Regions from separate parts of the Homo sapiens genome. Here regions 1 and 2 are each linked to region 3. The links are contacts of gene promoters, found by promoter capture Hi-C in human tissues and cell types (Jung and others, 2019). All regions are on one chromosome and are shown on one strand. The core of a region is centred on a gene start or on the middle of the fragment in contact, and the rest is flanking DNA. Distances in the headings are between cores, read along the strand shown. Region 1 has its middle 14 kb from the start of CYB5D1. Region 2 holds the start of KCNAB3 (potassium voltage-gated channel subfamily A regulatory beta subunit 3). Region 3 holds the start of AURKB (aurora kinase B).

The links. The method cuts DNA at HindIII sites, captures the fragments that hold promoters and counts their contacts. A contact is called where the count stands out against the background at its distance.
Region 1: a contact is called between a fragment that was not itself captured here and the fragment with the promoter of AURKB in region 3, in 1 of the 25 tissues and cell types used here (thymus).
Region 2: a contact is called between the fragment with the promoter of KCNAB3 here and the fragment with the promoter of AURKB in region 3, in 1 of the 25 tissues and cell types used here (adrenal gland).

What each region holds. Positions count from the first base shown.
Region 1 is chr17:7,870,300-7,873,760 of GRCh38, reverse strand. It overlaps a transcript of NAA38 not described here. Among named protein-coding and RNA genes, the nearest start is that of CYB5D1, 14 kb to the right of the region's middle. The HindIII fragment of the contact is 4,268 bases long and covers 1-3,461 here.
Region 2 is chr17:7,927,937-7,931,206 of GRCh38, reverse strand. It overlaps KCNAB3 (potassium voltage-gated channel subfamily A regulatory beta subunit 3), which reads left to right and starts at 1,351. Exons shown (of 14, transcript NM_004732.4): 1 at 1,351-2,013. The coding sequence starts at 1,772. TRAPPC1 (trafficking protein particle complex subunit 1) reads left to right here. Exons shown (of 4, transcript NM_021210.5): 3 at 58-196; 4 at 473-858. The coding sequence ends at 601. The HindIII fragment of the contact is 19,988 bases long and covers 1-3,270 here.
Region 3 is chr17:8,209,031-8,212,754 of GRCh38, reverse strand. AURKB (aurora kinase B) reads left to right here and starts at 2,180. Exons shown (of 9, transcript NM_004217.4): 1 at 2,180-2,225; 2 at 2,506-2,578. The coding sequence starts at 2,531. RefSeq lists enhancers at 2,678-2,727, 2,289-2,948. The HindIII fragment of the contact is 18,109 bases long and covers 1-3,724 here.

The DNA of each region.
Region 1 (3,461 bases), core at 591-3,090, 340 kb after region 3:
ACATGTTTAACTCTATCCATATTTGTCCTTTTATCCTGTCCTCCTGTCCTGTCTGAAGCTAATGCCTATACTTGGGCTCTTAGTCTCACCCCTGCCACCTTCTCAGGGACTAATGGTTAGCAGCGATCCTCTAACTCAGTCCTTTATTTCCGATTCCACTTGCTCTTTCCCAGTCACATTAAAATGTGCTCAAATCTCCTTATCTTTGAAAGAAATACTCTGGACCCCTTTAGCTGCCACCTTACCGCACTGTGTCCATTCACAGCCAAGCCTCTTGAAAGCATTAACTGCCCTCAGTGTCTACTTCCCTACTCATTTTCCAGCCCTCTGCCCCCACCACAGCTGCTTTCACCAAATTACCAACAACCTCCTGGTTGCTGAAAATCAGAGGATGTTCTTAGTTCTTCACTTGACCACCCCCTTTTTGAAAAAAAGAATTTGCTTGACGTCTGTAGTTTCGCATTCCTGGTTTTTCCCTTGCCTCTCTGGCTCCTCCTTGTCAGTCCCTGTTCAAAGAGGCAGTGCTGTCTGGATTAGTGGTCAGCCATGGTACTTAAGAACCTGGGCTTGGGAGACAGGTCTGGGTTCATATGCGGCTTCCACTTCTCAGAGTTTCAGTTTCTTCAACTAAAATGGCAACATATAAGTCTTTTTGTGAAGCCCTAATATTACCAAGTCAATGGAATTACCCTTTTAAGGTCGTTAGTACTGTGTTTGACACACAGTAAGCAGGCATGCACTAAACTCCCCTGACTCTCCAAGCTTATAATAGGTGCTCCTCCTATGTGCTACCATATTATCCTTTATCTTTCTCATTAGGCTCCAGAGAGGAGGGGCCCTGTCACCCTTCTCCACTGTCGTATCAGTCTAGCACACGGCCAGGCACACATTAGGCACCCTGGAAATACCTGTTGACTGCTTCAAGTGTTTAATATATGGCAAAGGTGATACTTTAAATCAGTGGGGCAAAGGATTATTGATAAATAATGATGCATAATTGATAAATGGAAAACTATTTGTGAAAATATAAAAGGTAGATCCTTACCATTTACTAAAGTAGTTTTCAGATGGATTAAATAGTGACATTAAAAACAAAAATTGCCCGGGCACAGCGGCTCAGGCCTATAATCCCAGCACTTTGCGAGGCCGAGGTGGGCGGATCACAAGGTCAGGAGTTCAAGACCAGCCTGACCGACATGGTGAAACCCCGTCTCTATTAAAAATACAAAAATTAGCCGGGCGTGGTGGCGCATGCCTGCAATCCCAGCTACTCAGGAGGCTAAGGCAGGAGAATCACCTGAACGCGGAGGTTGCAGTGAGCCAAGATTGTGCCACTGCACTCCAGCCTGGGCAACAGAGCGACTCCGTCTCAAAAAACAAAACAAAACAAAAAATGTAATTCTGCTCAATTCAGCAAGACCAAAAAATTTTTTAGAGAACTAGAATGAGATATAAAAAGTGTGGGTGAATATTTTCCTGATCTTGGGGGTGAAAAAGGCCTTAAGCGTACAACAAGCATCAACGTGGATGCTTTAAAGGAAAACGTGGATAGATTTAACTCAATGAAACTAAATTTTACTGTGTAAGAAAACATAAAGTTAAAAGACTAGCTAGGAAAATATTTGTGCCATTAATGACAGACCATTTTATTCAGTAAATACTGTGTGCTCTAATAGAGCTCAGAGATAACAGAAACTACTCTAGCTCAGAAAGATACTTTATCCAGGAAACCAGGGCTTACAAAATTATTGGAAGGGCCAAAGAAGAACTACAGACAGGGTTTCCAGAGTGACAAGAAGATTGTAAGGACAGGCTTGGTGGCTCACGCCTGCCATCCCAGCACTTTGGGAAGCCGAGGTGGGTGGGTCACTTGAGGTCAGGAGTTCGAGACCAGCCTGGCCAACGTGGTGAAACCCCATCACTACTAAAAATACAAAAAATAGCCAGGCATCATGGTGCGTGCTTGTATTCCCAGCTACTCGGAAAGCTGAGGCAGGAGAATTGCTTGAACTCGGGAGGCGGAGGTTGCAATGAGCCAAGATTGCACCACTGCACTCCAGCCTGGGCGACAGAGTGACTCCACCTCAAAGAAAGAAGAACGTTTTAGACCTGGCCCACCAGAGATCTACTTCCTATTTCTTCAGTGATCAAGAAGCTGCTGGGGTCGGGTACTGGCTCCAGGATTACTCCAGTATTGTATTACAGCAGGAGTAAGGGGGTATAAAGGAAGATAGCGAGCTAGTGTTTGTATTCTTGATGAAATAAAGATGTCATAGAAATCAACAATAAGAAAAAGACCAATAGAAAAAAAATACAAAAGTAGTAAAGTATATGTACAAAAGATGAACAATAGGATGATGATTGCTGACTTTTATTGAGTTTTACTCTGCATCCAGGAACTAAGTACTTAATATGTACTAACTCACTCACTCCTTTCAATAACCTTATAAAGTAGAAAGTATCCTAATACTCATTTTACAGATGAGAAAACAGACAAAGGGAGGTTAAATATCTTGCTCAAGGTCAGAGCTATTGAGAGGTGGGCATTTATGCCTAAACTCATGGACCACAGTAGACCTGAAAAAAGAAAATTAGATGATGTGATGGCTCAAGAATTGGACATTGTTAATAGCAATTGAGAAAGAAGCTGGCTTTAAGAGGCCATAATGAATTTGTTTCTAGATGTGCTTAGCTCGATATGATGGTGTGGCATCTTTTTAGAAAAATAATTTCTGGTTGGGTGTGGTGGTTCACACCTGTAATCTCCACACTTTGGGAAGCTGGGGTGGGTGGATCACTTGAGCCCAGGAGTTCAAGATCAGCCTGGGCAACATAGTGAGACCCCGTTTCTACAATTTTTTTTTTTTTTTTTGAGGTGGAGTCTTGCTCTGTCGCCCCCAAGCTGGAGTGTAGTGACACGATCTCGGCTCACCGAAACCTCCACCTCCCAGGTTCAAGCAATTCTCCTGCCTCAGCCTCCCGAGTAGCTGGGATTACAGGCGTGCACCACTGCACTGGGCTAATTTTTGTGTATTTTTTTTAGTAGAGACCGGGTTTCACCATGTTGGCCAGGCTGGTCTTGAACTCCTGACCTCAGGTGATCTGCCCACCTCGGCCACCCAGAGTGCTGGGATTACAGGCGTGAGCCACCGTGCCTGGCCAAAATAAATAAATTTTAAAATAGAAGTAACTCAACTTCTGAGCTATGGAATAGTTCTCTGTACCTCCAGTACCTAATAAAGAACCCAAATACTGCAATATATCTTTTCGATTAAAAGATTTTTTGTTTTTTAATTGATTAAAAGATTTTATCTGGTCTGCTCATCCTTCTATTGCTGCCTTTTAGCTAAATCCATTTCCTTGCTCTCACTGAGTAAGGAATATCATCTTAATCAGAAGGAGGAAGATGTAAGCCTAAAATTGTTGTAATTGTTGTCTTTGCCTTCTGCAAGTTTTTTAGA
Region 2 (3,270 bases), core at 102-2,601, 280 kb after region 3:
GTGTCTCTTTGGGAGAGATTCTGCTCCCATTCTTTAACACCCTCCTCATCTCTGCAGGAAGGATGGCTTCCTGGCCTTCCAAACTAGCCGTTACAAACTCCATTACTACGAGACGCCCACTGGGATCAAAGTTGTCATGAATACTGACTTGGGCGTGGGACCCATCCGAGATGTGCTGCACCACATCTACAGTGCGGTCAGTGCCAGCCCCAGGGACCCATCCCCCAGAGCTCTTCAGAACCCCAAGACTCCCTCATCTCCCCTGCCCCAATCCTACTATATGTTTGCTCAACTCAAGAGTTTTCTCAGGGGCCCTTAGGTTCTTAACTCCCACCACCACTTTCTCCTCAGAGAGGGCTTGCCTTCCAGCCCTTATTCCTTGTGCATTCACACACCCCTGAGGTTATACAAGGTTTGGGGCTAAAAACCAGAAGTATCCAAAGCCTGGCTCTAACATCTTCCCTTTCCATAGCTGTATGTGGAGCTGGTGGTGAAGAATCCCCTGTGCCCGCTGGGCCAAACTGTGCAAAGTGAGCTCTTTCGCTCCCGACTGGACTCCTATGTTCGCTCTCTGCCCTTCTTCTCCGCCCGGGCTGGCTGAAGCAACCTACCTCAAGTCTCAGGAGAATTCATGTCTGCCTGGGGCCCTTCCGAACCTGTGCCAACTAAGGGCCCCCACTGTAAGCCCCCGCACCCCCACCCCCTGCCCAGAGCAACAGCCTAAAGGCCTGCCCTGATGCTCTCCTCCTACCAGAGTGAAGCCCACAGAGTCCCTCCACCTCCACACCAGGCCCTCTCTCCAGTTTTATCCCCTGCCTAATGCTGCGAGAAGCACAGAATAAACTTTTTGTCACTCTCTGCGGCCTGAGCGTGTTGGTTTGAGGGCCCTCTCAGTCCTGCCCCACGCATGAAGGTGGAAAGTAGGGCAGCCACACCCCCTGGAGGGCCACGAAGTGGCTTTGCGGATGGGTTTCTCAACCGTGGGAATATTGATGCTTTGAGCTGGATAATTCTTTATTGTGGGGACCGTCCTGTGCTTTGTAGGATTTTAGCATCCCTGGCCACCACCCACTAGATGCTGATAGCACAGGCATGAAATCAAAAATATCTCCAAACCTTGCCGAAAGTACGCTGGGAGATACATTCCCTCCCGATTGAGAATCACTGGGCCGGGGGAAGCCTGACAGCCCTTGGGTCCCAGAGGGTGCAGGAGCCATCCTCCCCAATTCCGCTCAGAAAATATTCAAGCTGCAGAGCCTTCAGCAGGCGGGGCTTATGCAGATGAGCGGCAGGTTTGGCTGAGAGGAGGGCGGCTCTATGCAGATGAGGAGGCGGTGCCTGCATGCTGATGAGCTGGGCCCGCTGCCGACGCGGCTGGGAGCCCAGCGGGTCCCGCAGCGGTTCGCGCTGAAGTGGCATCTCTCTCCCGCCCCGCTTCCCCCTGGGTCCTTATCCTCCGAGACCTTTACCTCATCCTCGACCTTTACCCTCATCCATTTCCCCCTCCTAATCCTTGCTCCTGTGTCCCCCGTAACTGAATATCTCCACTCCTGGCGCCCCCCACGTTTCTTCCCTCCCGCCGCAAACCTCGCGACCTCCAGCAGCCCGCCCCCGCGGGCCCGATCCTGCCTGGCGGCTCCCGCCGCAGCCTCCTCAGCCTTCCCGCTCTGCCGGGGTTCGCCCCACTACGCCCCCGGTCGTCAGCCCTCGGGCTTCCCTGCTCCCCCCTCCCGTCCCCTCGGAGCCCCCTCCCCCGCCTCGGCCAGCCAGCATGCAGGTGTCTATCGCGTGTACCGAGCAGAACCTTCGCAGCCGGAGCAGTGAGGACCGTCTGTGTGGACCCCGGCCGGGCCCCGGGGGCGGTAATGGTGGGCCGGCCGGCGGGGGGCACGGGAATCCTCCGGGGGGTGGAGGGTCTGGCCCCAAGGCCCGAGCTGCACTGGTTCCCCGACCCCCAGCGCCCGCTGGGGCCCTCCGAGAGAGCACCGGCCGAGGCACTGGCATGAAATACAGGTATGGGGGTGGCCGGGCAGCCCACCCCTTCCGCTTTCCTTTCGGGACCCCTGAGACTGCTTGAGATGGCCGCCAAGACCCCTTCAAACTTCACTAAGTAGGTCTCCCTTCTTTCCATCTCTTCTTTCTGTCTCTGGCACTCCCTCACTTTGTCCCTCTCTTGGTTTCTGTCGATACCCCTGACTACGAGAATCAAGTTTACCAAGGTTGACTGGGTCCTGTCAGACCCAGGGGATGCCCCTGAGCTTCCCTCCTTACCCCTGGGAAGGTCAGGGATGCATGGATCTCCACGCTACACGGATCTCCAGGCTATGCCTCCTCCAGTGGAGTGTCCTTGGGTCCGTGTCCTGGGGAGTGGAGGGAGGGAATCAGCTTCTCACTCTGGCCTGCTCGGGGTGCCTGACCCAGATACTGCCCCTGCCTGCCCCAAAGGCTAGGTCTTCTGCGACCTTTCTTGGGTGCAAGGGGAGTGGGGCCGGTGGGAAGGATGGACCACATTTTTCATCTCCATGCTGAGGGACAGGGTCTGGGTAGACTGAAATGTAACTGACTTTATCTCAGAGGACTGCCAGACCAGAAGCTCAGAACCTGAAGTAGGGGGTAGAGGAGGGGCTCCTGCTTGGGAGTGAGCTGAGGTCACTGATCTGACCTGCTTTGTCACCTGAGGAATCTGATCCCCTCTATATGGTGGCCCTGATTGGAAAGCTGAGCTGACACCTGGGTTGGGGGCTTTGGGAGGATGAGGGGGCTCACTGGTTCAGAGACAGTCTTCACAAGTCAATAGGAACAGAGGGAGTGGAGAGGGAGAACTAGGCTTTTCTGTCTTACTCTCCCCCCTCCCCCCAGGTCCTCAATCTGCCTTTCCTCCAGGCCCATCTGCCTAGCCTAGCCAGGGACCCCTGTCTGTCTGAATGCCTGAACTTGACTTGGTTTACCTCTTCCAACCTGCCATCTACCATTTGGCACAGCACTCTGCCTGAGGGCCTGGTCTCACAAACTCACCACAATCAAACAAAATTCCTCCCAGCCCCTCACTGCACACAACCCACAGATGACTCAAACACAGACAAGACCCCAGAAGAAGGACAAACCAGACTGCACGTCTTCAATGTGATAAGAGGGAATGGAGACTCTGGACAGTGGCTCCAGAGGAACAGTCACATATGGTTCACTTGTCCTTTTGAGAAAATTCCTAGGACCTCTGCTCTGGAGATAGCACTTGCCCAATCTTATAGGCCCACTGGGTCTAATTTCTTT
Region 3 (3,724 bases), core at 931-3,430:
GAGGCACACACTACCATACTGGCTAATTTTTTTTTTTTTTATTTGTAGAGACGGGGTTTCACAGGTTGCCCAGGCTGATCTTAAACTCCTGGGCTCAAGTGATACAGCCGCCTTAGCCTCCCAAAGTGCTGGGATTACAGGCGTGAGCCGCCAAGCCTAGCCATGGTTTGTTTTTTCTACACAATATGCTTAAACAGCAAATAGCATTTAGAATGCATTCAGAAAGGATATTAGCTGAATAATAATCTTCTCTATTGTTCATGTAAGAAAAGTGCTAACGTAGGCATGTAGAGGCTCAACAATGTCATCAAGTCCTGAAGTTCTTTCCAGGCCTCTCTTCTGCCTTCTGCAATGTTAGGCTTCAATGTCAAGCTGCTTCCTTCAGTAGCACTAGAAGCAGCAATGAGGGCTGCATGCTTCCCTGCTCACTTCCAGAAATCTCTTCCTCCATACCTTGCCCTATACATCTTTTCATCTATATCATTTGTAATACACTTTATGATAAACCAGTAAACGTTAAGTGTTTCCTTGAGCTGCCCAGCATTCTGAGCAAGAAACTGATTCCCACTAGCTGGCCCACTTAAATCACAGGCTTATGCCTGATCCAATAACCATAATCTGGAATAAAAGGTATTGATTAGTATAAGTTAATTGGGGCTCATTTCTGGACCTGCAATGAAGTCAGTTTCCTTCTCAAATCCTCAAAACTCTAAGTGCTTTCAGAAGTGGGAATAAAGCTGGGCGCAGTGGCTCACGCCTGTAATCCAAGCACTTTGGGAGACCAAGGCGGGCGGATCACCTGAGGCCAGCCTGAGCAATGTGATGAAACCCCGTCTCTACTAAAAATACAAAAATTAGCCGGGCGTGGTCACATGCACCTATAATCCTAGGTACTCGGGAGGCTGAGACAGGAGAATCAGTTGCACCCTGGAGGAGGAGGTTGTGGTGAGCTGAGATTGTGCCATTGCACTCCAGCCTGGGCAACACAGCGAATCTTCATCTCAAAAAAAAAAAAAAAAGTGAGATTTAAATAGGTCTTCATCAACCTAGGGATTTGGGGTTGTCAGCAACAGAAACTACTACAGAAACCGACTGCATAGACTGGAGAGACAGGTGGTCCCCTAAAGGAAAAATAGAGTGTTAGAAGAAAGGAGAAGAGTGCTGGACAGTACATACTTAATAAATATCCACTGGTTATTTCATAGAAGGCCCAAAAATGTATTTATTTAACCCAGTAATGAAATCTGAGGGTTAGGAAGAGCAGAAAAGAAGGAAGTGTGGCAGGAAGGAGGAAAAATGAAAGTGGGCCCAAACAACACGGCAGCTAACAGAGATCTTGCAACGAAAGGTCTATTGGTGGAAAAACTCCTCCCAGGAATGTCAGAACTTTTAAGAACGACATAGTAATGACACAAGAATAAACACACAGGCAAATGAGCAAACAACGGAATACAAAGTCTAGAAATAGACACAAGTAAATATGCTAACATTATATATCAAGGGCAGCATTTAAATTCTGTTGGGGCAGTTTGTTTAACAAATGGTGTTGACATAACTGGCGCTCCATCGGGCAGAGAAGTTAGACCCCAGCTCATACATGCATAAGGATAAACTCCAGTTACATTAAAGATTTAATTTTTTTTATAAAAAGAAGAAGGCCGGGCACGGTGGCTCACGCCTGTAATCCCAGCATTTTGGGAAGCCGAGGCGGGTGGATCACCTGAGGACAGGAGTTCGAGACCAGATTGGCCAACACAGCGAAAACCCGTCTCTAATAAAAATACAAAAATTAGCCAGGCGTGGTGGCGGGCGCTTGTAATCCCAGCTACTCGGGTGGCTGAGGCACGAGAATCGCTTGAACCCGGGAGGCAGAGGTTGCAGCAAGCCCAGATAGCACCATTATACTCCAGCCTGAGCGACAGAGAGAGACCTGTCTCAAAAAAGGAAAAAAAAAAAGAAAAGAAAAAGCAAGATAATTCACTGGGGGAATTTGGGGAAACTTTCCTAAACTGGAAGCCAAGCGTGAGCCCTTCTCATTCCGCCTCTTCCATTGGGTTCCCATGACTTACGTCACAGGACATCGAGCCAATGGGAACTAGGCATGGGCGACGAGCTTGCCCAATGGGGCCGGGGCGGGAGATTTGAAAAGTCCTTGGCCAGGGCGCGGCGTGGCAGATTCAGTTGTTTGCGGGCGGCCGGGAGAGTAGCAGTGCCTTGGACCCCAGGTGAGCTGGCCTCCTGTCGCAGGCCTTGCGCCGGGAGTGGGCAGATGATCAGGTAGATCAGAGGGTCCGTTGGGCTGGCCTGCGCGCACGCCGCAGGGCTGGAAGGAGGTAGGGACGATAGCAGGGCGGGGGCGGTGAGACCAGCGCCCAGATTGGGGCTAGTGTGCTGACCTGCTCCCTTTTACCAGCTCGGGCTAGCGCTTCCGGCTCGATCGGTCCAACCCCTCCCTCTCTCTCTCTTTTTCTCTGCTTCTCACGGCTGTTTCCCTTCTCCGCCCAGCTCTCCTCCCCCTTTCTCTCTAAGGATGGCCCAGAAGGAGAACTCCTACCCCTGGCCCTACGGCCGACAGACGGTAAGGCCCTTCCCTCCGTCCCTGCGCCCCCATGACCCCGCATGGCGAGTTCCTGCTGGGAAACTTGAGATCCTGCAATGAGCAATCCTTTAAGCACTTTCTTCCCCGTTATGCTCCAAAGTACGGGTCCCAAGTTTGACGACAGAACCCGCTCTGGTCATTTGTAGCCACATCCTGTCAGGTGCTGCCAACGTGAATCTGACCAGCCAGTGACTCCCAGCTGGTGAGGACCTCTGCAGGGCTCGTCACATACAAATGATATCTGGGACTGAGCAGGCAGGGCCTGGCCTTCAGGCCATGATTCCCAATCCATATCCTGAAAAAAAAAAAACTAGACAGCAAATAGAAATAGACTCTAAAAGGATATAAAGTTACAGTTTAAAAGGCCCAGGGCAAGTCTAAATTACAATTTGGAATTAATGACTAAATTGAGGTAAGAATCTAAATGGATCTAAATTGACTTATTTCCCAATGGTCCAGACAGATTTCATTGAAGGGCCTCCTCTCTGATTTGAAATGCCACCTTTATTATATATATAAATTCCCACATATATGTGGGTCTATTTCTGGACTGTATTTTATTCAACTTGCTTATTTGTAGATTGGTACCAATATCACTATTTGGGGCCTAGGGGCTTTCTTCTCTTGGCTGCAGAAGAAGGAAGGGGCCCTGCACAGGCTTTGCTCCCTGTTTTTGGAGCTCTTGCTTCCTGGAGAGTCTGTCTGTTCCCTTGTACATCAGCTCCCTCCCTCATGGAGCACTGAGTGAGGCTGTCAGGAATGGAGTCTGAATGAGAAACCATTGTCACTTTTACCTTAGTCACTCCTAAAAGAAAATGTACCTATTATTTTGAGAGTTGAAAGTGAGGCCAGGTAGGTGGCTCACGCCTGTAATCCCAGCACTGGGAGGCTGAGGCAGGTGGATCACCTGAGGTCAGGAGTTCGAGACCAGCCTGGCCAACATGGTAAAACCCCGTCTCTACTAAAAATACAAAAATTAGCCAGGCATGTGCCTGTAATCCCACCTACTCAGGAGGCCGAGGCAGGAGAATTGCCTGAACCTGGGAGGTGGAGGTTGCAGTGAGCCGAGATGGCACCATTGCACTCCAGCCTGGGTAATAGAGCGAGACTCCATCTCAAAAAAAA